Linked DNA regions of Homo sapiens: regions 2, 3, 4, 5, 6 and 7 are each linked to region 1. Evidence: promoter capture Hi-C in 16 types of primary human blood cells and fetal thymus (Javierre and others, 2016). All regions are on one chromosome and are shown on one strand. Each heading gives the region's core, a stretch centred on a gene start or on the middle of the fragment in contact. The rest is flanking DNA. Distances are from core to core; before and after follow the strand shown. Region 1 holds the start of PLSCR5 (phospholipid scramblase family member 5). Region 2 overlaps PLOD2 (procollagen-lysine,2-oxoglutarate 5-dioxygenase 2). Region 3 overlaps PLSCR4 (phospholipid scramblase 4). Region 4 overlaps LOC105374145 (a long non-coding RNA gene). Region 5 overlaps PLOD2 (procollagen-lysine,2-oxoglutarate 5-dioxygenase 2). Region 6 has its middle 12 kb from the start of PLSCR4. Region 7 overlaps PLOD2 (procollagen-lysine,2-oxoglutarate 5-dioxygenase 2).

What was found. Contacts are between HindIII fragments. The CHiCAGO score rates a contact against its expected background, and 5 or more counts as called.
Region 2: a contact is called between a fragment that was not itself captured here and the fragment with the promoter of PLSCR5 in region 1, in 6 of 17 cell types (monocytes, total CD4 T cells, activated CD4 T cells and 3 more). The highest score is 8.3, in monocytes.
Region 3: a fragment that was not itself captured here is called in contact with the fragment with the promoter of PLSCR5 in region 1 in 12 of 17 cell types (monocytes, total B cells, naive CD4 T cells and 9 more); the score reaches 9.0 in monocytes.
Region 4: a contact is called between a fragment that was not itself captured here and the fragment with the promoter of PLSCR5 in region 1, in 4 of 17 cell types (monocytes, naive CD8 T cells, total CD4 T cells and 1 more). The highest score is 8.2, in monocytes.
Region 5: a contact is called between a fragment that was not itself captured here and the fragment with the promoter of PLSCR5 in region 1, in 1 of 17 cell types (monocytes). The highest score is 6.1, in monocytes.
Region 6: a fragment that was not itself captured here is called in contact with the fragment with the promoter of PLSCR5 in region 1 in 9 of 17 cell types (naive CD4 T cells, monocytes, neutrophils and 6 more); the score reaches 7.5 in naive CD4 T cells.
Region 7: a contact is called between a fragment that was not itself captured here and the fragment with the promoter of PLSCR5 in region 1, in 2 of 17 cell types (naive B cells and M2 macrophages). The highest score is 6.4, in naive B cells.

What each region holds. Positions count from the first base shown.
Region 1 is chr3:146,603,358-146,606,831 of GRCh38, reverse strand. PLSCR5 (phospholipid scramblase family member 5) reads left to right here and starts at 1,486. Exons shown (of 8, transcript NM_001085420.2): 1 at 1,486-1,632. The coding sequence starts at 1,620. The HindIII fragment of the contact is 8,012 bases long and covers 1-3,456 here.
Region 2 is chr3:146,139,250-146,142,886 of GRCh38, reverse strand. All of the region lies in intron 1 of PLOD2 (procollagen-lysine,2-oxoglutarate 5-dioxygenase 2), which reads left to right. Among named protein-coding and RNA genes, the nearest start is that of PLOD2, 20 kb to the left of the region's middle. The HindIII fragment of the contact is 3,166 bases long and covers 118-3,283 here.
Region 3 is chr3:146,241,264-146,244,893 of GRCh38, reverse strand. All of the region lies in intron 1 of PLSCR4 (phospholipid scramblase 4), which reads left to right. Among named protein-coding and RNA genes, the nearest start is that of PLSCR4, 8.0 kb to the left of the region's middle. The HindIII fragment of the contact is 2,371 bases long and covers 73-2,443 here.
Region 4 is chr3:146,181,033-146,184,569 of GRCh38, reverse strand. The region is part of intron 1 of LOC105374145 (a long non-coding RNA gene); the gene reads left to right. Among named protein-coding and RNA genes, the nearest start is that of PLOD2, 22 kb to the right of the region's middle. The HindIII fragment of the contact is 3,290 bases long and covers 612-3,537 here.
Region 5 is chr3:146,122,246-146,125,942 of GRCh38, reverse strand. PLOD2 (procollagen-lysine,2-oxoglutarate 5-dioxygenase 2) reads left to right here. Exons shown (of 20, transcript NM_182943.3): 2 at 1,714-1,805. Among named protein-coding and RNA genes, the nearest start is that of PLOD2, 37 kb to the left of the region's middle. The HindIII fragment of the contact is 4,362 bases long and covers 1-3,697 here.
Region 6 is chr3:146,261,324-146,264,613 of GRCh38, reverse strand. No RefSeq gene overlaps it. Among named protein-coding and RNA genes, the nearest start is that of PLSCR4, 12 kb to the right of the region's middle. The HindIII fragment of the contact is 3,837 bases long and covers 1-3,281 here.
Region 7 is chr3:146,101,560-146,105,350 of GRCh38, reverse strand. It overlaps PLOD2 (procollagen-lysine,2-oxoglutarate 5-dioxygenase 2), which reads left to right. Exons shown (of 20, transcript NM_182943.3): 6 at 1,009-1,072; 7 at 2,499-2,596. Among named protein-coding and RNA genes, the nearest start is that of LNCSRLR, 34 kb to the right of the region's middle. The HindIII fragment of the contact is 1,719 bases long and covers 1,287-3,005 here.

The DNA of each region.
Region 1 (3,474 bases), core at 237-2,736:
AATGATAGACTGGATTAAGAAAATGTGGCACATATGCACCATGGAATACTATGCAGCCATAAAAAATGATGAGTACATGTCCTTTGTAGGGATATGGATGAAGCTGGAAACCATCATTCTCAGCAAACTATCGCAAGGACCGAAAACCAAACATCGCATGTTCTCACTCACAGGTGGGAATTGAACAGTGAGAACACATGGACACAGGAAGGGGAACATCACACACCGGGGCCTGTTGTGGGGTGGGGGGAGAGGGGAGGGATAGCATTAGGAGATGTACCTAATGTAAATGATGAGTTAATGGGTGCAGCACACCAACATGGCAGATGTATACATATGTAACAAACCTGCACGTTGTGCACATGTACCGTAGAACTTAGAGTATAATAAAAAAAATTTTTTTAATCTTCTTTGATAGTGTTAATAACTTAATTTTTTGTATTAAAGTTTTTCTAAATGCTCACGACAAACATTAGAAAAAACTTAGGAAACATACAGTTTAATTTAAAAATATTAATCATATTCACACATCTTTTCTGCAAAACGACAACTTAAATAATGGTAGCTTTTTTCAACTCCAAACACTAAGAAAACTACAACAACAAAACCACTCCTCTTTGTCAAATAAGGAAAACTCAAACTTTTGGCAGTCTGCAAACTGTGAGGTTGACTTTATAATTTTTCATCACAAGGTATACCTCCTGAAGCCTCTTAACTATTTTCAGAAAAAGACAGTGTTGCTGATAATGCAATATATCCTGCATGTTCAACCTTTGTGAATCATACCATGTAGGGCAATTGACTTGGTGAGCAAAATCTCCATGGTCACCTGGGTAGCTGCATTTAGAAATAGGAGCTGTCCAGTCAAGGTTACAGCACTTGTTTTCTTTCCTTAGAATTCAATGCAGTTAAATATCATCTGTAAATTTTGATTAGCTTTGCAAGGCTATTGAAGGTTTGTATATTCCAATGCCTCTGATTAATCAAATTCAATTAAAAATGAAAATAAAGATTTATTTATATAATAGTAGGGAATATATCCTCTTCTTATTTATTTTGAGTTGAAGAGATGGAGATAAATCCAATAGAAAAATAACAATAATAATGTTCAAACATTTTCAACATGTAAAGAATTGTATTTAGAACTATCAAAAATTTATACAATAGGATGTTTTATCACAGAATCTGGAAAGGAGACTTCTAGAAATTGAGAAATACAGGATATTTCTGATATAAGACTGAATGCAAATGTGTATATTCTAAGAAATACAAAAACAACTTGGTAAAAAAAAAAAAGACACTTAAAATGAGTGCTGTGTGCTTTCCTTTCTGGTTTTTATTATTTTTAAATTGTTCCTTCAGCCACCAAAGTTATATGATGGTTTCTGAACAGCGTTTACTTTTGTGACAGTTTCATCTCACTCTGTTGTCCAAACTGATAAAGTCCAGAAGTCTAGAAACAGCAAGGGACTCCCTTCCTCTGTTATATGTAAGCTGACAAGAGGCAGACAAACACGTTCTGAAGTTTTGTGCATGCTGCGTTTTCTCTCCTTGCTGCAACAAGAAAAGCCTTTGTTTTCCAACCTGGCAACCTTTGAAGAAGTGACTCAGACATCTTCATGGCCTCTAAAGGTAAGAGTAAATATAACCAACTAATAACTTTTTCTTATATTAAGACTAAAAATATACAATTGTGGATGTGTTACAACCAGTTAGATTGGTACTTTAAAAGCTGTCATTTGTCACTTTTGAACATTGTGATTTTAAAATCTTAACTCCCAGGAGCATGTTGAGTTACATGTAAAAACACTTTATCTGACAGACTGTAAAAGTTCAGATGTAAACGATGTTTTAGTTATCATGAATACAAACATAGTGAATTAATAAGAAAAGCTGCATAGCAAAGTTTAGAATGGGAATCTTCAATGTTAAACACAAGGACAGGGTGATATTTTAAGTTTAAAAGGATTTGAAGAAAACTTTTCACACATAAGTTAGAAAGTGTTAAAGTGCAATTTAATAATTTTTTTAATTAAAATATTAAAAATTTATGTGGGTACATAGTAGGTATATATACTTATGGGATACATGAGATGTCTTCATACAAGCAGGCAATGTGAATTAAGGACATAAAGGGGAATGGGATATCCATCCCATCAAGCATTCAGCCTTTGAGTTACAGACAATCCAGTTACACTCTCTAAGTTTTATTTTCCCATTTGTTATTCAAATTATGTGATATAGCCATTTATTATAAAGAATCTGACATGCGTTATTATTGATTCTTAAATGTGATGGGCTAGAAATAAGTATTTCTGAATTATAAAGCAAAAATATCTTGAAATTTCCTTATGGTAAATTAAAGATAGAAAACAAACAGAAAATATCTGCTTTAAGCGCACAGATCACTTAGCAGACTTTTGGGGAGTAGGACTGATGAGTTTTTTCTCAAATTCCTAAAACTGCAAAAATATCATTACGTTATCTTACTTTAAAGAAGGTCTAAAAAGACAAGAGATGTAGTTGTTTTTAAAGTAAGTTGCAATCTCACTAAAAACACTTGTGAAACTGTGTAAGAAATAAAATTATAATGTGCTTTCATTTCATTGTCAGAATGAACCACTAAAGCCTAGGCTATAATGAAAAGTTTTAGCATGAAGAATTATAATTAGTATAATTGGTGAAAACCTTTTAAATTAATTACAAATAGGATAATAGGGCTCATCAATTTGTAATATCCTAAATTAGTGATCCATTCAAACAAATGTGTATGCTTACTTGCTTCCTTTATCAAAACACACTTTTGGTCACTATTTAATATGAAACAAATGAGATAATCTTTCCATTTTTTATCAATCTTTAATGTAGACCAGTCCCTCAGTCCCTCAGAATCACTGAGAAAGCTCACACAAATTGTAAAACATAGATGTGAAATAGCAAAATCATGAATTTAACATATGTGTCATTTTTTTCTATCTGAAGACAAATAAACAAAAAACCTTGACAAATATTTCCTTTCATTTAAGACTGACACTACTATTTAGTCCAAAATACTTCATCACTTTATAAAATAAGAGTTACAGCAATACTGTAGACTGTAAGGTAAAAAGTTGCAGAGTGTATAAAATATTTATAAGCTAGTTATACATTTTTAAAAGAGTAGATAGAAATTCAAAGCCAGTACGAAATTCAAAGGAGTTCCTTCTTCATCTGGTTGTCTGAGTCTTTGAAGAAACTTGTGACTGGAAAGTAATATTATGTCAAAATATGATTAATCTAACAGGAAGCAGTGATGTTCCATAATGATAAAGACCCAAGTCTAAACTTAGAAGCAAAACTTCAGGTGGAAAACTGACCCTCCTTCTGCAACCGGCTCAAAATATTTAATGCATGGAAGGATAAAACACCTATTAGAGACTTCATACTACCTAGGAGAATATAAGTGATAATGAAGCTTTCTTGTGAATTAGATAT
Region 2 (3,637 bases), core at 451-2,950, 460 kb after region 1:
AGTCCCTGAGTCAGCTTTGGTTTGTACCAAGGCATCAAGTGTATTTGGTTTGACAAGAGATTGGAATGTGCTGACAATGCCCCTTTCTTATAATCTTAGGCAGTATATTACAAAGCTTTATTTTGAATGTAGCTTTTATCGTTTGTTATTTATTGTACTTAAATTATGTTTAAAGGCAAGCACTGGGATATTTGTGTGCTTAAACTTTGTTTAAGGGCAAGAACTGGAGATTTGTGTGCCTGGAACAGACCCTACTCTGCCTCCACTTTCCATTTAGGTCAGTGGGCAATTAATCTTGTAATATGAAAGGTTTCAGGTTTGTAGTGTTTTTATTGACCAACCTTTACATGAAAGTACATCTACCATGTAGCTGGAAAAAGATCCCTGATAACTTTTCTATGTACCACCCTTAGTTTTTGGAAATAGGTAAAGGAAGAAAAAGTGACAGACTGAGAATGAATAGGCAGAGAGATGGAAAAAACAGTAGAGAGAAGCACCAGGAGGGGTAGATTCATACAGCTGGATGGTGAATTTTGCACTGATTTGTTTTGCTAACTTAAAACTTGTTGGATTACATAAATTTCTATTAAAAAAGAAAACACTGCATTCGTATTAATTTAGGCATTATTTTTCTTGATGACAAAAATCTGAATAAAAAAACTAGTTCCTTTTAATAAAGGACATTAAATATCAGTAGATAATAGCTTTACTTGTAGTTTATTTAGAGATACTTTCAAGGGATAAATACTTTTCTCATCTTTTTGAAAGTTATAATTTGGCAATTGTTTTCTGACAGGAACATTTGGTTACATACAGTAGATGTATGGTTAGATACAGTAAATGATGTTTTTGCCAATTTTCTAACTCTCTGGGAACAGAAGTGGAGAATGTTGAATCCCATTCCCCTGTTACACACATTTCTTCACCTGGTGAACTCATTTGTCCTCAGTTTTAGGGCGAATTCCTCACAATTTTTTTCATAAACTTCCAATTTAAAATAACTTTCTCTGTTAAAACCTTTCATCCTCTTCGTGTTGTTGAACTTATTCTTAGTTTTACTGCAGTTTCCATTTTAAATTGTTTGTGGAATTATTTGCCACTGTCTCCCCTCACAACTGTATTGTAAGACCCATGAAGACAGGGATTGATTTTTCCAAAAATGTTTATTGAGTGACTTCCTTCCAAAAATATTTATTGAGTGCCTACTGTGTATCAACTAGGATTTGGGGATCTATTAGGTTTACATTCTCTTCAATTCCAGCATTTACTTCGTTTACCATTATGTCTCCAACATGTAGCACAGTGCCTGATAAACAGTGAATGTCAGTATCTGTTGAAAGAATAAAGATGAAAGCCCTTTGAGGAGTATTTGCAGGGCTCAAATGTGGTGTGGAGTCAGGGGTTAAATCTGTAGTTGAGGAACATGAACTTCTCCTGAGGTTGGGGATTTCTTTCCCCATCTCAATCTGAAATTTCCAACTGTCCCTGTTCTAACTTTTCTTTCAATAAAAACGAGAACTTCCTTAGTGTTAGATCCATTTTGTAAACTGCGTCTGGGGAATGTATGCAGTTTAAGTAAACTGCAAGATAAATCACAGAAGAGTTAATGCAGTAGTGATCATTTTATTAGCGGTCCACATTAATAGAATACAGCAATTTAAATTGTAATGTAGTTAACTTTGTCCTTTTTTGGGGTTGTAATTAATCTAAACATCCAGCTATTTATGTTACTTATAATTAAAGGTAGGAAAGCCATTAGATAACTCATTTGTTCATACTGTGTATTCAATTATCTGATTTATTATTTATCTAGTTTATGTACTGAGAGTACATAATAAAACTTAATAAAACCTCATAATAAAACTTATTAGGGGGCAGTAAATGAAGAAACATGTTGTGTTCTTGACAGAGCAGGTACATGGACACTCAGACATTAAAATGGAGACCAGGAAATTAAAGATCAGAAGCAGCATGTGGAAAACATTCTGTCTGGGGCCACTTATTATAGGAATAAACAGCTCTGTAGATTTAGATGTTCTGGGGAAGTACCCTATCATTGGAAAATATGGTAAGTGATCATGAGTCCTCAAGAAGAGGTTATATTTGTTTGGTATTCTTTGCTTAATTATCACATTTGACAGAATGATTTGCATTATTAACATTATTAATAGAAAGTGTTTAGAGAAAGTTGAAAGGCACCATGGTTTAATTGACTGGAATGCTTTATGACTAAAAATGCAGAGAGTAGTTTGTGAATTTTCAGGAACTGATCCTATTCTTTATTAAAGCGTATTGTGTATTTCTGAAAAAGCACACATAGTATAGTTTAATTCAGACTCTCTGAGCTGTATATACTTCTAATTATATACTAGTTTATGAAATTACTGAGTTCCTTCTACTTTGAGAAATTCTGGAATTAAGAATGAGTGAGGATTGTTGGGGAGAGGTCGTTGAAGCTGACAAAACACTGAATGCTTACCCTCGTTTCTAGGTCACAGTGAAATCAGACTTCACTGGGGAGCAGTTTTCTGATGAGGAATGTCATGAATCCTTTCAGAAATGGGAATGTCTCTGTGTTTGTCTCTGTAATGTAGAGGCATCTTGAGAGGCTGGACTTTTGATGAATTGTCATAAGAACTGACCCCATATAGCATTGGCTCAGCTTTCTAACAAGGGATTCTTATTTCCTGCTACATAAATTCCCCAAATGAAACATTGACTCTTTCAGACATAACCTGACCCAGTGCACTGGGTCATACTGGAGTATCCTGACCCTGTATGGATTTATACTGCTGAGAAAATTTAAATTGCGTTCAAAAGAGAGCTATTTTATGAACATCTACCTTAAATATGCATCTTGCTTATGACTAATTAATGCCTTGCTATGTTTTTGTGGAGCAGTCTTGAAGAACCAGGTGGCGAACCATTCATTTCTAATGTGTTGTAGCTAGGAATTAGTTGAATTTGACTGTATACGAGGTGAGGAAAGAGAAAGGGAGGAAGGCAGGGAAAGACCAGCTTTTCCACAGTGACATTCTTCAACAGTATTTTTTGCCAGCAGCTGATATTTCTTCCCTAGTGCTGTTTCAATGTGTATATTCTAAGCCTTGTAATAAATTTCTTGCTAATGACTTAAAGTGATGGCATTTGTACAGGAATGTGTAACTGTTGGCTTGATTTTATTTTACAAACTGGTTTGAAAAAGAGAGAAAATCCTCTGAATATTCATTTCTGCTTAAGTCCAGTGGAAATCTCAGTAAAATATTGGATGTGCAGAAAAGCTTTACACTTTAGGATGAGCTGCATTATTATCTTTTTCCTGCATCATAATAAAACCCTTAATCCAACATTTAGGTTGTTTGATAGTTGGCGTTTATAACGCTACCGGGGTGAGCATTTATCAAGATAAATTGTGGAGATTTGTGTTCCTTCAGGATAGGGAATGTGGCATTTAGAATTCTTATTGTTTAGAAAGTCACAGAAGATACTTTAAACATTTCTTAAAATTTTATTTATGTAACAGACTCATCTTTTCAGGTTAGATTTATGAGATAATTTGGAGTCCTTCACTACTTTAAACATTTTCTTAAAATTTTATTGATGCAGGAGACTCATCTTTTAAGATTAGTCTTATGAA
Region 3 (3,630 bases), core at 9-2,508, 360 kb after region 1:
TAGATTCATCAGAGGAATCTAGGCCTAGCTTTTGGCCTGTCTTTGCTTTCAGCATGCCTTCCTCATTAAGCTTAATCTTTTCCAGCTTTTTGACTTAAAGTGAGAGATGCACGAACCTTCTTTTCACTTGAATATTTAGAGGCATTTGTAGGCTTATTAATTGGCCTAATTTCAATATTGTTTTGTCTCAGGGAATAGGGAGGTCCTAGAATAAGGGGAGAGATGGGAGAATAGTTGCTCTGTGGAGCAGTCACAACAACACTTACTAAGTTCACCATCTTATATAGGCATGGTTCATGGGGTCCCAAAACAATTATAATAGTAACATCAAAGATCACTGATCATAGATCACCATAACAGATTGTTATGAAAAAGTCTGAAATATTGTGAGAATTACCAAAATTTGACAAAGAGACAAACTGAGAAGTTGCTGTTCTGCAAAATGGCACTGATAGACTCCTTGATACAAGGATGCCACAAACCCTCAATTTGTTTAAAAAAATGGAGTATCTGTGAATCACAGTATAGCAAAGCACAGTAAAACAAGGCATGCATGTACATAATGAGGTATCTTGAGAATGGGACCCAAGTAAACATGAAATTCATGTTCCATTATGTTTTAAACATATAGCCTGAAGATAATTTTATACAATATTTTTGATAATGTTGTGTATGAAACGTTTACGTACGTTGAACCATCAGAAAGCAAAGGTATCAGTATCTCAATCACCCATGTGGACAATCTGTGGTTATTTGACGTCACCATCATTCCTGACTCTAAATTCATTATGCTACTGATAAGTAATCATTTTCTTACATTACTCACAAATAAGTGCTTAACAGTAAAAAATAGGATGTATCATTAGTACAGTGAAAAGAGAATGCGTTCAGGGTAACTAAGCAGCACAGTAGTATCTCCAGAATGCCTGTGTCGGAAAGCCACCAATAAGCAATGGCAGGCTTTCATTCTTTACCTACAATGCTGTATTTTGATTACAAGGTTATCATTCACTGAATTTTATTATTTTAAGTGAGAAGAAATATCAGAAGTAGCCAAGTGACCAGCAAGTGTTTTCTCTACAAATGAGGAAGCATTCTGATGGATGACTTTTCAGAATGTTTCCTCTGGAGTCCGCTGTCTCATTAACAATGGTTTTTGTCTTAGAAGTCTCTGTTGATTTTACAGACTGACACAATTTCTTATTCTGTGATGAATGAATGCTCTTAGAGTCCTTCAGTAAACCCATCACATATTTTCACCATGTCATCTATAGGCACTTTGCAGTTTTAACAGTGTCCTCATCATCTTTCACTTGTGACATCATGTTGGTGCTGAAAGTTTTGGATTTTTGAGCATTTCAGATTTTGGACTTTTGGATTAGGGTTGCTTAGTCTATACAGCATTTTATGTGCCCGAACTCTGCATGAATATTATAATCTTTTCTTAAAGTTAGAGATTGGTTCATCCTTTTTGTTCATTTCTTTGTTTTCAAGAATAAATGACAACACAGTTTTTGTTTTGCTTTCTATTTTTTTGTTTTTCAAGAGTTTTGGAGCATAGTCAGGATCATGATGATAAGAAAGAGATGTATATATGTAACAAACCTGCATGTTGTGCACATGTACCCTAAAACTTAAAGTATAATAAAAAAAAAGATGTATACAGTTGGTAGAGCATATTGTTAGCAGGAGTTTGAGAAGAGGGGTTTCAGTCAATTGAGAGATCCCCATGGAAGAAGCAGGATGAAATACAGATAACAGAACTAATTCTTACAAATTTTTTTTCTGAAAATGGTCCAAGTGTCAATTAGGAACTTTCCAGGTTTGATTTGAAACCCCCACCACAGAATTTGTTTTTCCTCCCTGAGAGATTGATGGGTTACTGTTTTGGGATTAAAGCCTTTGGGGGCTTTCTCTGGTGGAGAAATAGTTCAGACAAAAGGTAGTGGATCCATTAGATGGCTAATATAAAAGTGGACAATGTATTTTCCAGTTGCATGAGTGTTTACCATAAAGGCAGACATCTTGGGGCATAGGGTTCTTTATTTTGGGATCCTCTTGGGCCCTGTAGCCTTTACAACTGTAAAGACATAAACCTGTTTGCCTTTCGTAAGGAATTTTCCCACTGTAGCCATTCTAAGTTACTTTTGCTAAGGTTCTCCCATTCGTCTCGAAAAGCACAGGTTCTGGGTCTCTGGTTTTTATACATGAAGTTGGCTAGAATTCCAGAGGGCGAAGCTCTAGCAACCTTTGACCAGATAAACCCATGATTCTATGTCTTTTATTAACCTTTCCTACCTACTAACTGAGTTGAGTTTATGTCTGACCCAGTCAAATACCTGAGGCCTCCCTACTGGGCCCAGTCCTGTTGTTGGCATGACTTTGAAACCCAGTGTAGATCAAAAATGCTCAAACTCAGCTCAAATCAGAAGTTCATGAAGCTTAGATTCAAAAATCTCACCCATGACCCCAGTTGCTGCGAAAGAGCAGTGAGTACACTGGGCATGCTGGGTACCTTAACTTGGTCACTCAGTGCTCCTGGGATCACTGGAAGTTTGCTTCAAGATCTGACTTCTCATGTGAAACTCTTAAAAGAAAAACTTTAGGCAAATTCAGCAGAGTTTATCTGAGCGAAAAACGATTCATGAATCAGGCAGCCCTCAGAACCAGAAGAGTTTCAGAGAGCTCCACCGAGCAACATGGGCAGGCAGTATTCATAAACAGAGGAAAGAAGTGACGTACATAAATCAGTTGATTGGATCCAGCCTGGTATTTGCTTTATTTGGTCATGGTGTGATGAGGCATTTGCCTTCAACGGACATGGTCTGATCAGTTGACAGCCCGTGATTGGCTGAAGCTCCACTACCATCATTGGCTGAGACTCAGCTACTTGTTACAAGAATACAACCTCAAATCAAGTTGCAGTCTGCTATTTACAGAGGCAGCTTTAGGCCCAATTTAATTTATCAGGTTATGATTTAGATTACGTAGAAATGTGTTGTTTTATTTTTATGTGGTTAGAGAATTTCCTGTTATCTTGCGGTTAGTAATTCCTAGCTCATTACATTATGGTCGGAGAACAAGCTGTATTATTTTAATTTTTTTGTAATATTTTAAGATTTGTTTTATGAGCCAGAATGTGGTCTGTCTGGGTGAATGTTCCGTACGTTGAAAATAATGGTTATTCTAATGCTGTTGGGTGGGTGTCCTACAAATGTCAGTGTTGGTTGATGATGCTGTCTAGTTGTGCCAATATCATTGCTGATTTTTCCTCTGCTTGTTCTTGTAGATTACTAAGAATGGAGTGTAAAAGTCCTCAACTGTAACTGTGGATTTCTCTTTATTTTTTTCAATTTTGCCAGTTTTTCCTTCATGTATTTTGAAGCTCCATTGTTAGGATCAGTCATGCTTAGGATTGCTGTATCTTGTTAAGAAATTGTCTCTTACTTTTAAGTGATAGCCCTTCTTATCTCTGGTAATTTTCTTTGCTCTGAAATCTACTTGTGAGATATTAGTATAACCACTCCAGCTTTCTTTTTCTCTGTAATGACTTTGTTGAGACATAATTCACATACCATAAAATTCACCCATTCAAAGTGTACAGTTGAGTGATTTTTAGTATATTCAGAG
Region 4 (3,537 bases), core at 1,007-3,506, 420 kb after region 1:
CATATTTTTAAGACACACAGAATTTAAGACACACAGAAAAATTATTCATTGTTTATCTGAATGTCCTTGAATGCGATCAAATTTAATTGGGGTGGGTACTTCCTGTATTTCCCAATATTTTTATGTGTCAAATCTGGCAACCCTACAAACAAAACACAGCAGTACTCTAAAAATCACTAAAGATCAATGTAAATTTTCTCTGTATGTAAAGGAGTGTTAAGGAGACTGAACACTGAGGAGAAAGCAAAGAGGAATCACCTTGCTAATGCCCAGTAATACCTCCTAGAAGTCTTCATTCATCTCCTTTCCTGAATAGTCTTAAGCTTTATTATAACAACTGGCTTAGTTTCTTTGCTGTATGCCCTCACTCAACTCAATAAGTAGGCAACTCCCAAACTCCACTTTTATTACTTCCATCCCTACCCTCACACCTTCCTCCTTTTGATCAATTCAACCTATTACAGTTTTTGCTAATATTTTTTTCCTGAACCACTCAAAAAGGTTGCAAAGCAAGAAAATGCACATATAGACTAGCTGGTATAGGTTTGCAGAACTATTGTGACCCCTTTTCCATGTATCATACCACTTTTATTGATGTGGAAATGTAAGCTTTAGAGGATAGTGAAATTCAAGTAAATTTATCTCCTATGCAGAAGCTCTTTAGTTTAATTAGATCCCATTTGTCAATTTTGGCTTTTGTTGCCATTGCTTTTGGTGTTTTAGACATGAAGTCCTTGCTCATGCCTATGTCCTGAATGGTATTGCCTAGGTTTTCTTCTAGGGTTTTTATGGTTTTAGGTCTAACATGTGAGTCTTTAATCCATCTTGAATTAATTTTTGTATAAGGAGTAAGGAAGGGATCCAGTTTCAGCTTTCTACATATGGCTAGCCAGTTTTCTCAGCACCATTTATTAAATAGGGAATCCTTTCCCCATTTCTTGTGGTTTTCAGGTTTGTCAAAGATCAGATGGTCGTAGATACGTGGCATTATTTCTGAGGGCTCTGTTCTGTTCCATTGATCTATATCTCTGTTTTGGTACCAGTACCATGCGGTTTTGGTTACTGTAGCCTTGTAGTATAGTTTGAAGTCAGGTAGCGTGATGCCTCCGGCTTTGTTCTTTTGGCTTAGGATTGACTTGGTGATGCGGGCTCTGTTTTGGTTCCATATGAACTTTAAAGTCGTTTTTTCCAATTCTTTGAAGAAAGTCATTGGTAGCTTGATGGGGATGGCATTGAATCTACAAATTACCTTGGGCAGTATGGCCATTTTCACGATGTTGATTCTTCCTACCCATGAGCATGGAATGTTCTTCCATTTGTTTGTATCCTCTTTTATTTCCTTGAGCAGTGGTTTGTAGTTCTCTTTGAAGAGGTCCTTCACATCCCTTGTAAGTTGGATTCCTAGGTAAGAGCTTCTGCACAGCAAAAGAAACTACCATCAGAGTGAACAGGCAACCTACAAAATGGGAGAAAATGTTCGCAACCTACTCATCTGACAAAGGGCTAATATCCAGAATCTGCAATGAACTCAAACAAATTTACAAGAAAAAAAACAAACAACCCCATCAAAAAGTGGGCAAAGGATATGAACAGACACTTCTCAAAAGAAGACATTTATGCAGCCAAAAGACACAGGAAAAAATGCTCATCATCACTGGCCATCAGAGAAATGCAAATCAAAAGCACAATGAGATACCATCTCACAGCAGTTAGAATGGCGATGATTAAAAAGTCAGGAAACAATAGGTGCTGGAGAGGATGTGGAGAAATAGGAACACTTTTACACTGTTGGTGGGACTGTAAACTAGTTCAACCATTGTGGAAGTCAGTGTGGCGATTCCTCAGGGATCCAGAACTAGAAATACCATTTGACCCAGCCATCCCATTACTGGGTATATACCCAAAGGACTATAAATCATGCTGCTATAAAGACACATGCACAGGTATGTTTATTGCGGCACTATTCACAATAGCAAAGACTTAGAACCAACCCAAATGTCCAACGATAGACTGCATTAAGAAAATGTGGCACATATATACCATGGAATACTATGCAGCCATAAAAAAGATGACTTCATGTCCTTTGTAGGGACATGGATGAAACTGGAAATCATCATTCTCAGCAAACTATCGCAAGGACAAAAAACCAAACACCACATGTTCTCAGTCATAGGTGGGAATTGAATAATGAGAACACATGGACACAGGAAGGGGAACATCACACTCTGGGGACTGTTGTGGGGTCGGGGGAGGGGGGAGGGATAGCATTAGGAGATATGCCTAATGCTAAATGATGAGTTAATGGGTGCAGCACACCAACATGGCACATGTATACATATGTAACAAACCTGCACATTGTGCACATGTACCCTTAAACTTAAAGTATAATAATAATAAAATAAAATAAATTTATCTCCTAACTGCTGTTTTCAGTGCCATTTTCAAATATAAACCACAGAGTCTCTTTCCATAATGGTCTAGAGAGAGAAGGAAGGACTATTATCTCTAACAACTGTTACACTTCATTTTCTGGAATTCTCTATCAACCACACAAACTGTGATGATAGATAACAAATATACAATAAGAGCACGTCAAACACTTAAGTTATAAGTGTCTAATACTCATCTTGGGGTAGGAAATAATATATAAAGTTTGGGATGTGTTCTACAGAAACATTGTGATGTATTAAACTGTACTAAATTTTGTGGGGCCCAGACATTGGCTTGAGTGTAGCAGCCAGCCTTACTAATAACCTTAGGCAGGACACGAAGCTCTGTGCTCTTCCACTTTTGCATCTGTAAATTAAAGCCATAATGCCTGAATTGTTTTGATAACAGTGTGATTGTGAGAACTAAAATGAGATAATGTATGTGGATAAGGCTGGCCCTTGGAAACATTAGCATTTTTACTAAGTAAAAGCAAAGAAGGAAGTGTAGGAACTGGTCTAGTTTTGCTCTATACAAGGTAACTTAGGCTCTTGGATAGGCTTTTATGAGCTATCAAGGCAAATGGACCCAGAAATATCCTCAAGGGATAAAAGAAATGTTTGGTTAGCAGGCCACATGTAAGCAATGATTTTTTTTTTTTTTAAGTAAAAAGAAAAAATGAAAAATGCCAGGCCACAAGATTAGCCCTCTTAGAGGCTCCTGGCATCGTAACTGGGGATCATGGATATGTTAAATAATCATGTTCGCTTCCCTTGATTAGATGGAAGCATTAAGTCATCTGAAACTAAAACTGAGTCACAGACAAACTTACGGGAAGAAACCCAAAGTCTGAGTGGTAAACGAAATGGTGAAAAAAATGTGTATGGATTCTATGTTTCCGTATGTCCATGTTAGCAAGACTTCCCCTAGTGAATCATGACCCATTTCTGTTTTTAGAGTTCAGGTGACTGCCTTACCTTGGGCCCCTCTGTTTGAATGTGATCATTTGGACAAACTCTAGACTCTATATGCCATTAAAGTTTTCATGAGGAATTTTTTAAAAAATCAAACATCATATTTAACCCTCCAAGAAAGAAAAGAAAAGCAATG
Region 5 (3,697 bases), core at 742-3,241, 480 kb after region 1:
ATGTAACTTTAAATAGAGTAATTTTATTACAGATAGACTTTAAAAAGCTCTTTGTTCTTATAAAATAAAATGTGGTATTCCCTATTTTGAAATTTACTCTGAATAATGTTAAATTTTCATAATCAGTTAAGCTCTGTTTGAAACTTTATAAATGAAAACTTTTTTAAATAGTTAATTTTAAAAAGTATTCTTAAAATACATTTACTAGGGCCTCATCACCTAGGCTGGAGTGCAGCCGTGTGATCTTGGCTCACTACCATCTCCGCCCCCCGAGTTCAAGCGATTCTCCTATCTCAGCCTCTTAAGTAGCTGGGATTACAAGTGTGTGCCACCATACCCGACTAATTTTTGTATTTTCAGTAGAGATGAGGTTTCACCATGTTGACCAGGCTGGTCTCAAACTGCTGCTCTCAAGTGATATGCTCACCTCGGCCTCCCAAAGTGCTGAGATTACAGGCATGACCTACCGTGCCTGGCCAAGAAATACCTTTTTCTTAGAAAAAAATCTAAGAATGTTGATGTTTATCTTCATGGAAATTATTTTTTTTGGTTGACTATTGAATGTTTGAATTTAGTATTTCTTTGTATATTGTACTTACTTATATTTTATTGTAGTTACTTTCAAAATTTGACAGATAGATACATTGGTTCATCTGCTATAATTTTTAACTGATTCCTATAATGCATTATTGCCATGTTTGGTGATTGTTGCTTAGGGGATACTCAAAACCTGAATTCTTTTCTTATAAATAGAGGGCAAGTGAGAAACAAATGATGTTACTCAGAGAATATTGAAAAGATGTTAGTTTTGCTTTCTTAGTGTGTAGGTCCTTCTAAATCTTCAGTTAAAAAAAAATGTTCCAGCCCTTTTGGCATTTGTTGATGCACTTGTTTCTTTTGTGCATTTTTCCAACATGCCTTTTCCTATTAAAAATAATCATTATCTGTAGTAGCTTATGTAGGTGTTTTGAGACAATTCCTTAAATCTATCTAATTTTACTAAAAAGAAGTGTTATGTTGGATTGAAAGTAATATTTCATTATAAAATGGTAGCTAATAGTTGTATATTTACTAGGGCAGTGGTTATTTTGATTCCATTTATTCTTTAAAGAGAAACCAAAACACAATAAATAATGTTGTCGCTTGTAAGAATTTTCATGAAAAAGCAATCCCGGATAGGAGAAAAAAATTAAGATTTTGTTTTAAATATTTGCTCCCAGTTGTCACAATTTATTTTAGAAAATTAGAATCAGATTTAATGATTGTATCTGTTTTTTTTGTGTATGTCATTATTTTGATGAATGTAATTTGCTGATCTCCTCACTGGTGATGTCATAAATCAGGAATGATTTATCGATGATGTTGAAGTTTGTTGATTAGATAATGTCAGAGAATCTTAATCATGGATTATAAAGTTCATTTTATGGAAGTTTTTCTCAATATTGAAATACTTTATTGATGGCATGATTTTTCTTAATCATCAATATACTTTTTTGCGTTGAAATAATTGTCATTTGAAGGTTCATCATTTGGCAGTAATACAACCAATTTGAGTCATCTATTTTTTCGACAGCTCTTTGTTTAGTCTTGTGTAGATAAGTAAACCAGAATATTCCCACGGGTTTAGTGAGGTCTCAATTACTGTAGTGAGTTGTAAAATGTGAGCATTTGATATCTTGGTAAACCTTCTTTTGTTTCCTTTTGTCTTTGCAGATAAATTATTAGTCATAACTGTAGCAACAAAAGAAAGTGATGGATTCCATCGATTTATGCAGTCAGCCAAATATTTCAATTATACTGTGAAGGTATGGTATATCCTTTAACCTATGAAGATCCTATAATGTGTGCCTAAAGTATGTTTTTCATAACAGCAGTACAATCTGTAATCCTCACAAGGAAGATAGCATTTGGTTACATAATTACTGTTAGTTCATGTAGTTTTTGGCTTTATTAATATTTCCTAACACAAAGAAATGGTGGTAAATGCTTGAGGTGAGGGGATAGCCAAAGTATTCTGATTTGATCATTACACATTATATGCCTGTATCAAAATATCACATGTACCCCATAAATATGCAACTATTATGCACCTGTAATAATTAAGATAAAATAATGCTGTGCCACTCAAACAATAATTTCTGAATTTTTGCCAATGCTTTGTATAAATATACTCTATAAAACAGCAAAAAAAAGTTAATATGTATTTGCATATATATATATAATTTCTTTCTGGCAGGTCATGTACAAATACAATGTAAATAAGATTTGGCAGGGATTTTTTTCACTGACTGCATAATTTTTTCTGTAATGGGTTTTGCTATCGTAGGATGATTCTTTGTTTGCAGGGAATTAGAAACAAATGTGAAGAGGGTGCCTTTTCTGTCTATTATTGAGAATTGCTTTTGTTTTTGCTTTTTTTGTTTGTTTGTTTGTTTTCATTTAGAGGTATTTGGGAGGATTGTTAATGTATTTTTAACCAAAGCATTTTAGAAAACTTATCTCCAGGTGAACATCTCATTGACAAGTGATCAGAGGAAACTTGGGGAAATTGATAGAACTATTAAACTCAGCTATGAGAGGCCTGCCATTTTATTTACTTACTTGTTTTTTTTAATAGAAAGAAGGATCTGTCAGCCAAGTCTTTTCTACAAATAAGAGGAGAACAAGGAGATACCTAGGTAGGAACACAAAAAGCAAAAAACTTTTTTTTTAAAAAAGAAGAAAGATTACTTTTTGGAGAAAAACTGATCCATTTGAGTATGTAGTATATTAAAAAGGTAGTTTTTATTAAATAACCACTGGAATACTAAGTATAGATGTAAATATAGAACAGCTAAGTGTTAATATAGAACAGCTAATAAACAGCTAAACTTTGCTGAAAAAGAGATGTAGTGGTAACAACTAGATGTTTAATATAGGATAAATGAAAAACATGTTAGAAATATGTTACTATGATAGATGGAAAATGTAGCAGTATGCACTGATAGGAGACACTGTGGAAATAAAATTAGGATAAAATAATGCTGAAATCTAGTTGGGGAATCGTTAGGGTTCAGAATGGAGAGAGAGTAGAATGTTTCTTATGTGCAAGGCACCTTGTAAGGAACTTTATATATGATATGCTGTTAAGTCACTATATGAACCATGTAAGGTAGATACTACTTTATTTCTGGATGAGGAAAACTTGTCCCAAGGCAAATAACTATATAAAGTATAATATCAGATCTTGGACCCCATCCCCACTTAACTTACTGGAGTTTATGATCCTTTTGCTCTCTCCTCATGTAATGCAGTGGTTCCCAAAGTGTGGACCCCAGACCACCAACATCTGCATTGCCTGGCTACTGATAAGAAAGAAAAAATAATCAGGCTCCCCCTCAGACCGACTGAATTACAAATCCTGGGAGTGATACCCTGAAGTCTGTGTTTGAACAAGGCTTCCATGAGATTCAGATGCACACTGAAATTTGACAACCACTAGTGTAGTGGAAAGAACATAGAGGGTGGTGCTTAACATGGTGTATTGCACAGAGTAGACTCTCAGATGTCGTTGGGTCCAATGTTGCATTAGGATTAGGGATTCCAGATGGGTTGTGGAACAAATCTCAGGGCCAGAGGAGGCCAATTTTTAGAGCAAGTACTATTAATGCTTCTAGATTAGCCTAGTTTGAATCCAGATCCAAAACAGCTTGAGTTT
Region 6 (3,290 bases), core at 114-2,613, 340 kb after region 1:
GCTTGGCTTTTCTCGAACTTCTTCCAAGTTAATGAAAAAAATCAGTACAGACTTTCTGGTGCACAATTTGTTATTCTTTCCATTAAACCTGCTGCCCTTGTTTTTATCTTTTGATGCATCTGACAGATGAAGTCCATTCTAACTGAGCTGAGTAGCATGAGCAATTTTGGATCTACTTTTATTAAACTGTTGTGTTTCTGCTTTTGTGGCATTGTTTTACTTCTCATGCATTAGAATATCTCAATTCTTTCTATTAATATACATTTCTTATCTCAGCTCCACTGTAAAATCATATTTTATTCCCTCCAAAGTCTTTCTCACAAAGTCCAATTAATACATCCATGCACTAACTTAAGTCTCATCAATGAGACTTGCTTTCCTAAAATTGTGTTCTATAATTACATTTCTATGTAAACATAGCCCTGTAGACACTTAACAACTATATACAGCTGGAAAAACTTAAACATTCTTCAGGCTACCCTGTCTCACTCTGACCCTCCATTCCTTGCCCTTCCTCTTTCCTTCTCTACCCAAAGTGTAGCAAGATTAAGGTATTACTGAGAAATGACAGGTAACAGTAATTACAACTCTTTTTTAGTTTTCCTTTCACAGGTCAAGGATTTCTTTGTTTCTAGTTATAAAGTATTTTTTCAATTTCTGCATCCTAATAGGTAGGTGAAAAAGTATTAATATGGAAGAGATAAGATACTGGGACTGCTAATGAGTGTGAATAGCATCCTGTGATAGGTAGGCAGTAATTACATCATTAAGGTCATGAGGAGAATGTCTGTCACCTGTACCCACCCCAGAGTTTCTTTTACACATGGCTTCACAGATATAAGACAGAGACCACAGGCTTCTGAGTCAGTTTATGTTATTCCTTTTGCGTTTTACAGATGCAAGTAAATAACATGTTTTTGGGGTTGTTTTGTGCTTTCAAATGGATGCTTTATTTCACTATTTGTTCCTTATTTTTATTCCCAAGGAATCCAAACAGATAGCTCAGGGTAGATAAGTACTTTAAAAATATCTGTTGAATGAAATAACATAATGCTGTTTTTATGTGTGTTTCAACCCCCTCATCATGTTAAGCTCCAAAGCTAGAATTTACTAGCTTTCCAAATTATGAAAACTGGCTGATATTCTTCTCTGTATAAATTTAGTTTCAAACCTTATTCAAATTTGTTAGGTTTCTAGTTCTAGATTGTTCCTCCTTGCAAAACACCCTGTGGATGCAGCTGAAATTATTTGCATCTCTTATAATTGTATCATGGCCTTATTATGTGTAATAATAACATTTCAGAAAATATCTAGTTGAAATATATATTGAATATAAATCATTATATATCCAGACCCAGTTTAAATTTAAATATACAGGCCACAATTACAAAAGTAATTTGCAGAGAGTAATATCACTTTGGGAATTCCTATGCCAGCAATTAGTTTTATGGGTAAATACAACAGAATTAGGAAGGGCTAGGCAAGGAGTTGCATGGAGAAACATATAAAAGGAGTTGAAATAAAAATAAAATGAATTCATGAACTACATATTATTCTCATGCCACTCTCTCTCCTGCTCCGGCACCACCTATTTTTGTTTTGTTTTGTATTGTTTTGTTCTGTCAGCATACAATATTCCTCCCTCAGGATCTCTATGCTAGTTGTTCTCTATTTCTGGAATACTAGTAAACACCATATGTTTGCCTAGTTGTTTTTTTCTAATCATTTGGCATGAATGTTACTTTCTCCAGTGACCAAGATGCCTTTCCTGAATACTATTTGTAATGTAGTCCCACCTCACCATCTTCCATATCACCTTGCTTTATTACTTCCAAACTACTTTTCATGCTCTAAAATTATTTTGCAATCCACTTCGTTGTTTATTGGCTCTGATCTGACAAGAATGTAAGTTCTAGGAGGGCAGAAACCCTGTCTTATTTTCTACTGAATCTCCAGCACCTAGTATAGAACCAGCTCAAAGTACTCAGTAAATCAGAATGGAGAGGTCATGGAAGGATTCCCAAAGTGGGTGATATTTAAAATGAGTCTGGGAGAATGAATGGAATGTAGCCAGATGGAGAAATGAGGATAAAGCAGTGGCAAAATATTTATGAAGTCATAAACCTCACAGTGTCATGAACCAACATAATACAATGGTGAATTTATATAGATACAGATACAGATATATGTATATAGATAGATAGATATAGTATCTAGCATATCACTAGAACATGGAAAACAGGGAAGTGCTACATGGTGAAGCAAAAAAAAAAAATTAAGCAAATGCAAGAAAATTAGGGCTGTATGTTCTACAATACATATTAAGAGTTTTCTTGAAAACTGTAGGCTTTAAAATGAAAAATCTTCCCTGAAAAATGAAAGACTTTAACCTGGAAGTGACATTATCAGCTTTGTATTTCAGAAGTCTTGAGCAATTTTGTAGAAAAAATAGACTCTTTTCATTACATGTTTAAGACTTTAGTAAATTTTTTAACATTCATTATTTTAAATCACTGACACATACTTGAATAACTCACATTCCTAAATATATACATAAAATGTCAGTAGATCTGATTCAGCCAAAATTCTTTAAATCAGCAAATAATTCACTTTGCATATAGACACTATACAAAAAGAATTTGTTATTTATCGACATTTAAGGACAATGGCAAACTTGTGTGTCTTTAATCACAACTTAAACATTCACACTATTGAATTAAATGCCCTGATGTTATAATAATTATGCAGATTGTGACATACGAGGCTGCCGTGTACAAAATTTGAATTTAAAATACTCTTTTCATCGATATATAGTTAAATTACTTGCCTGACTTCAAGAAATATTTCCTTTTTCTCATTTTTGCTTTTGGGAATGCCAGCCTCAAAAATTTTCTAGTTCCTCAAATTTTTGTTGAACTGCATTAACCATTTTAGGATTTTGTAAAAATATATAAATACGTAATGATCACATGGCCTAGCCATTAGTAAAGTATAAATACTCTAAATTTAAAATAGTTTTAGACATTTCACAGATATATTTGTATTAATCTGTCTGAAGTATACCTAAGATAAAATATTGTTAAATTAAAAAGTAAGATTTAAATATATCTCTATGAATAGACAGAAAAGTTGGTTAATATGCTTTGTGAAAGGAAAAAAGAGATACCCTATAATTAAATTTCAAGGAACAGAGCACGCTTTTGAAAAAGATTGTTTTACTGTCTCTTTCTACATTGAATTGAATATCATAACATTTTAAACAAAGTTTATGACAGTAAGCTTTAGATTCA
Region 7 (3,791 bases), core at 897-3,396, 500 kb after region 1:
CCTGAAGATTCAAAGAGATGATAATGAAATCCCTAAGAGGTTAGAGCCTGAGGATCCACGGGACTGTGCTATAGACACAGGCTTTTGTCTTTTATTCATAAGAACACTTAAACTGTAATAAATAAAGCAACTCAAAATAGCAGTGGTCTAAATAAGAAATATGTTTTATTTAAGTTTTTTCCTTCTGTCACATTGAAAGTAATTAAGAAGTAGGGAGCACAAGGCTGTTAGGGAGGCTTTATGCTGTCAAGAGGGATAGCTCTTTTGTTGCTCCACCATTGGTCCATAGCTCCCAGTTTTAATCTTACTTCCTTGTCCAAAATTGCTACTTGAGTTTCAGTCGTTGCATTCGTATTCTGGGCAGCTAAGAGAGGCACGGTAGTAAAAACAGGCCATCTCAGTTTCATCACTCTCTTTAAGTTGCCTTTCTAGAAGTCTTACCAAATAGTTTCTCATACTTTGATCAGAACGTATGTATGTGCCCACTCATAATACCCAAAGGAAAATCTGTTTTTTTATTTTAAGCAGATATATGCTCCTGAAATCTGAGTTCCCTTATTGGGGAGTTGAGGGAATGTTGGGTACAATAAGCAGTCTTCCATAGACCCTAGAGAGAATATTCCTGAAATTGATGTGAGTGAAACTCTGGAGTACAGTAAAGCAAGATTTTCTAATTTGAGAATACTTTTATCATATTTACCAATATAAGTTGATATTTAATAAATTTACTGTATATATTGGATACAGATATAAAAGTTACTTGTGTGTTTGTAGTTGCTGTCATTAGGAAACAAGATTTTCTTTAAGTGTATTTTGCAATGAGTTGCAACTATCGCAGTTTCTACCTTTTAGCTAAATACTTTAGTCATCTAAATATTTTGATTAGACACTTAAGATATAAGAATATTAAACTTTAAATTCCCTCAAAGAACAAACTATATTAATATGATAGGAATGTTTGCTGTTTTTGTTGTCATTTTCAATATCATTTCTATTCTTATGTTTTAGGAAGCTATTAACATCACATTGGATCACAAATGCAAAATTTTCCAGACCTTAAATGGAGCTGTAGGTATGCTTCCTAAATACCGGATTGCTTACGTATACAAACAAACACCTGTGTTTTCAACTATCTTTCCTTTGTTATGTCCATTTGGGGGCTGTGACTAAGGTCGACAGTGTAAATATTGTAATTATTGTAACTTAACAAAAATACTAGACTTGAACTTAACATCAGTACATTAAATTAAAATCATTTCCTATGACTAGTGTGAAAAAGATAAGCTTCTGGCTTTAGGTAACTTAAAATTTAGTGTCTCACCATTTGGGAATTTTAGATAAGTTTATAAATTAATTACACTTTATTATTACACATTTTCTAGTGAAATTCTTTGTATTACGAATTACCCAGAGTATTAGAGTAGATCCTTTTGACCCAGCTGAAAGATAACTGGTGACAACTAGACAGTAGACTGGGGAAGAGTGTGTGTGTGTGTGTGTGTGTGTGTGTGTGTGTGTGTGTGTACATGCTCGTGTGGATATGCATATGTGCCTGTGTATTATAGATACATATATCTTGATAAAATACATTAAAACTAATCAATACAGTAAAATTTAAAATATAATTTATTAACACATAAATACTTTTAAATATACATATAAAAATTGAGAATATATTGCAATTCAATCAATACTTCAAGTCAGTCCATTTAGTAAAAAGATTCTTAAAATCTAGTCAGGCATGGTGGTGCGTGCCTATAGTCCCAGCTATATGAGAGGCTGAGGATTGATTGATCCCAGGAGTTCGAGGCTGCAATGACCTGTGATTGTGTCCTTGCACTCCAGCCGGGGCCAGAAAGTGAGACCCAGTCTCTAAAAAAAAAAAAAAAATTCCCACAATGCAAAATGTTTAGTTTGGAGTGCTCAGGAAATTTTAAGACGATGGCTCTGCTCCTCTCTGACTTGAGTTTTATCTTGCTTAATGTGCTAAGTCTGATTTTTAAGAACTGGAAATATTATCATTGGTAGCCAATTGTAGAACCCTTGCTTATGCCAGACAATATTCTACTCACCATGCATATATTGTTATTATCTTCATAATAACCCTAAAAGACAGACGTGGATACCATTTGATAGATGACTAAACTGAGTTACTAATTTAACTTGGCAAGAATAACAATACTATGAAGGGGCAAAGGCAGGATTGCAAGATGAATTATTCTGACAGACAGCTCACTGGCTTAGCACCTCAATCACTTTACTGGTGCCAGGTTGGAGTGAGTTTGGTATCTGTATCTGTTGTCACTGTCATCCTTCATTTTGGGTATCTGCTGGCTTGGAGTAGATGAAGTTACTAGAAGTGTTGTAGCACTTGGAATATTACATCCATGAGAAATTTTGTAATGATGATACACACACATACACACACAGACACACGAATACAGACACACACACACGTATTTTAAATTACTAAAGCCTATTTTCTCTTTTTAACCCAGATGAAGTTGTTTTAAAATTTGAAAATGGCAAAGCCAGAGCTAAGAATACATTTTATGAAACATTACCAGTGGCAATTAATGGAAATGGACCCACCAAGGTAAGTAACAGTTACTTTTATTTGGCCAATTCTTGGAGATAGACTATGGATTGATATGTGGAATGTCATCTATTTTATTTTTAAAAATTTCTTTCAAAGACTTTATTTTGGTGCTAAAATAAAGACTTCATCTTTTACACAGTATATCATCTGGTTTTATACTAATTAATTAATCAAACTGATTTTTCCTCAGCAGAGTGATAGCCTTTTATTCTATTTACAGCACATTTGGCGTTTTATTAAATAATAACAACTAACTTGGGAGTGAGCCACATTTCTCTCATACTGGGTATCCTTTCTCATTAGGAATTGCTCAGGACATTAAGAGATCATTTGTTTCACCTGACTTGCCGTTTTCTAAGTTAACAACACTGTTAAGATTGGGGTATTACAATATGGCCAGAAAGCTTCCTCTTTCTCTTATTTCATTAACTACAGTTAATGAAAGTGACATAATTTGACCAATAAAATTTTGGATGCCTTTCTGTTTCAAATGTGTATAATTGAGCTTGCTAAAAATGTTATTGACTGCAAAATTTATAGATGAAAAGTTTGTTTTGCTTGGGTCCAATCAAGCTGGAACATAAATTGCATTGAAAAAATATAGTAATACTGTGCTTACAACAACCTTCTGACATGCTGAAATGCCTGGTTTAAGTACCTAGAAAAGGGATTAACAGATTTTTGTTGTGGGAAGAAAATACTGGGGGATGTGGGCTTCTGTTCCAGAGGAGTGAGTGATCTGAATTCCAGGAAAAGCTATGTGAATGGAAAGAAATGCAAGGAAAACGCATGCTGGCAACTTCTGCTCCATCAAACTGAAAGAAGTAGATTCCCGTCTCTTCTAGTTAATCTTTCCCCTTTGGTTTTCATCCCATTCCAGCCTTCCTACAAAGCAATCTCTATCTTGTGCCCTCCTTCAGTCTCTATCTTATAATCAGTTTCCCCAGCTCTGTCATCTCCTCATTAGCATTTTAAAGACCAGTAAGTCTCCTCCATCTTACAAATGAAACCAAACCAAGCCAACACAAGGTAGAACATCCTCTTCAATCCACACTGCCTTCCAGGCTGCACCTGGCTTTTCTCCTCCCCTTCACAGCCAAAGTTTCTTAAAATATAGATAACTCGCTGTCACTACTCCACCTCTTCCCATCACAGTAAGAAATGCTCCTGTTAAGGTCCATTGTGAAATCTT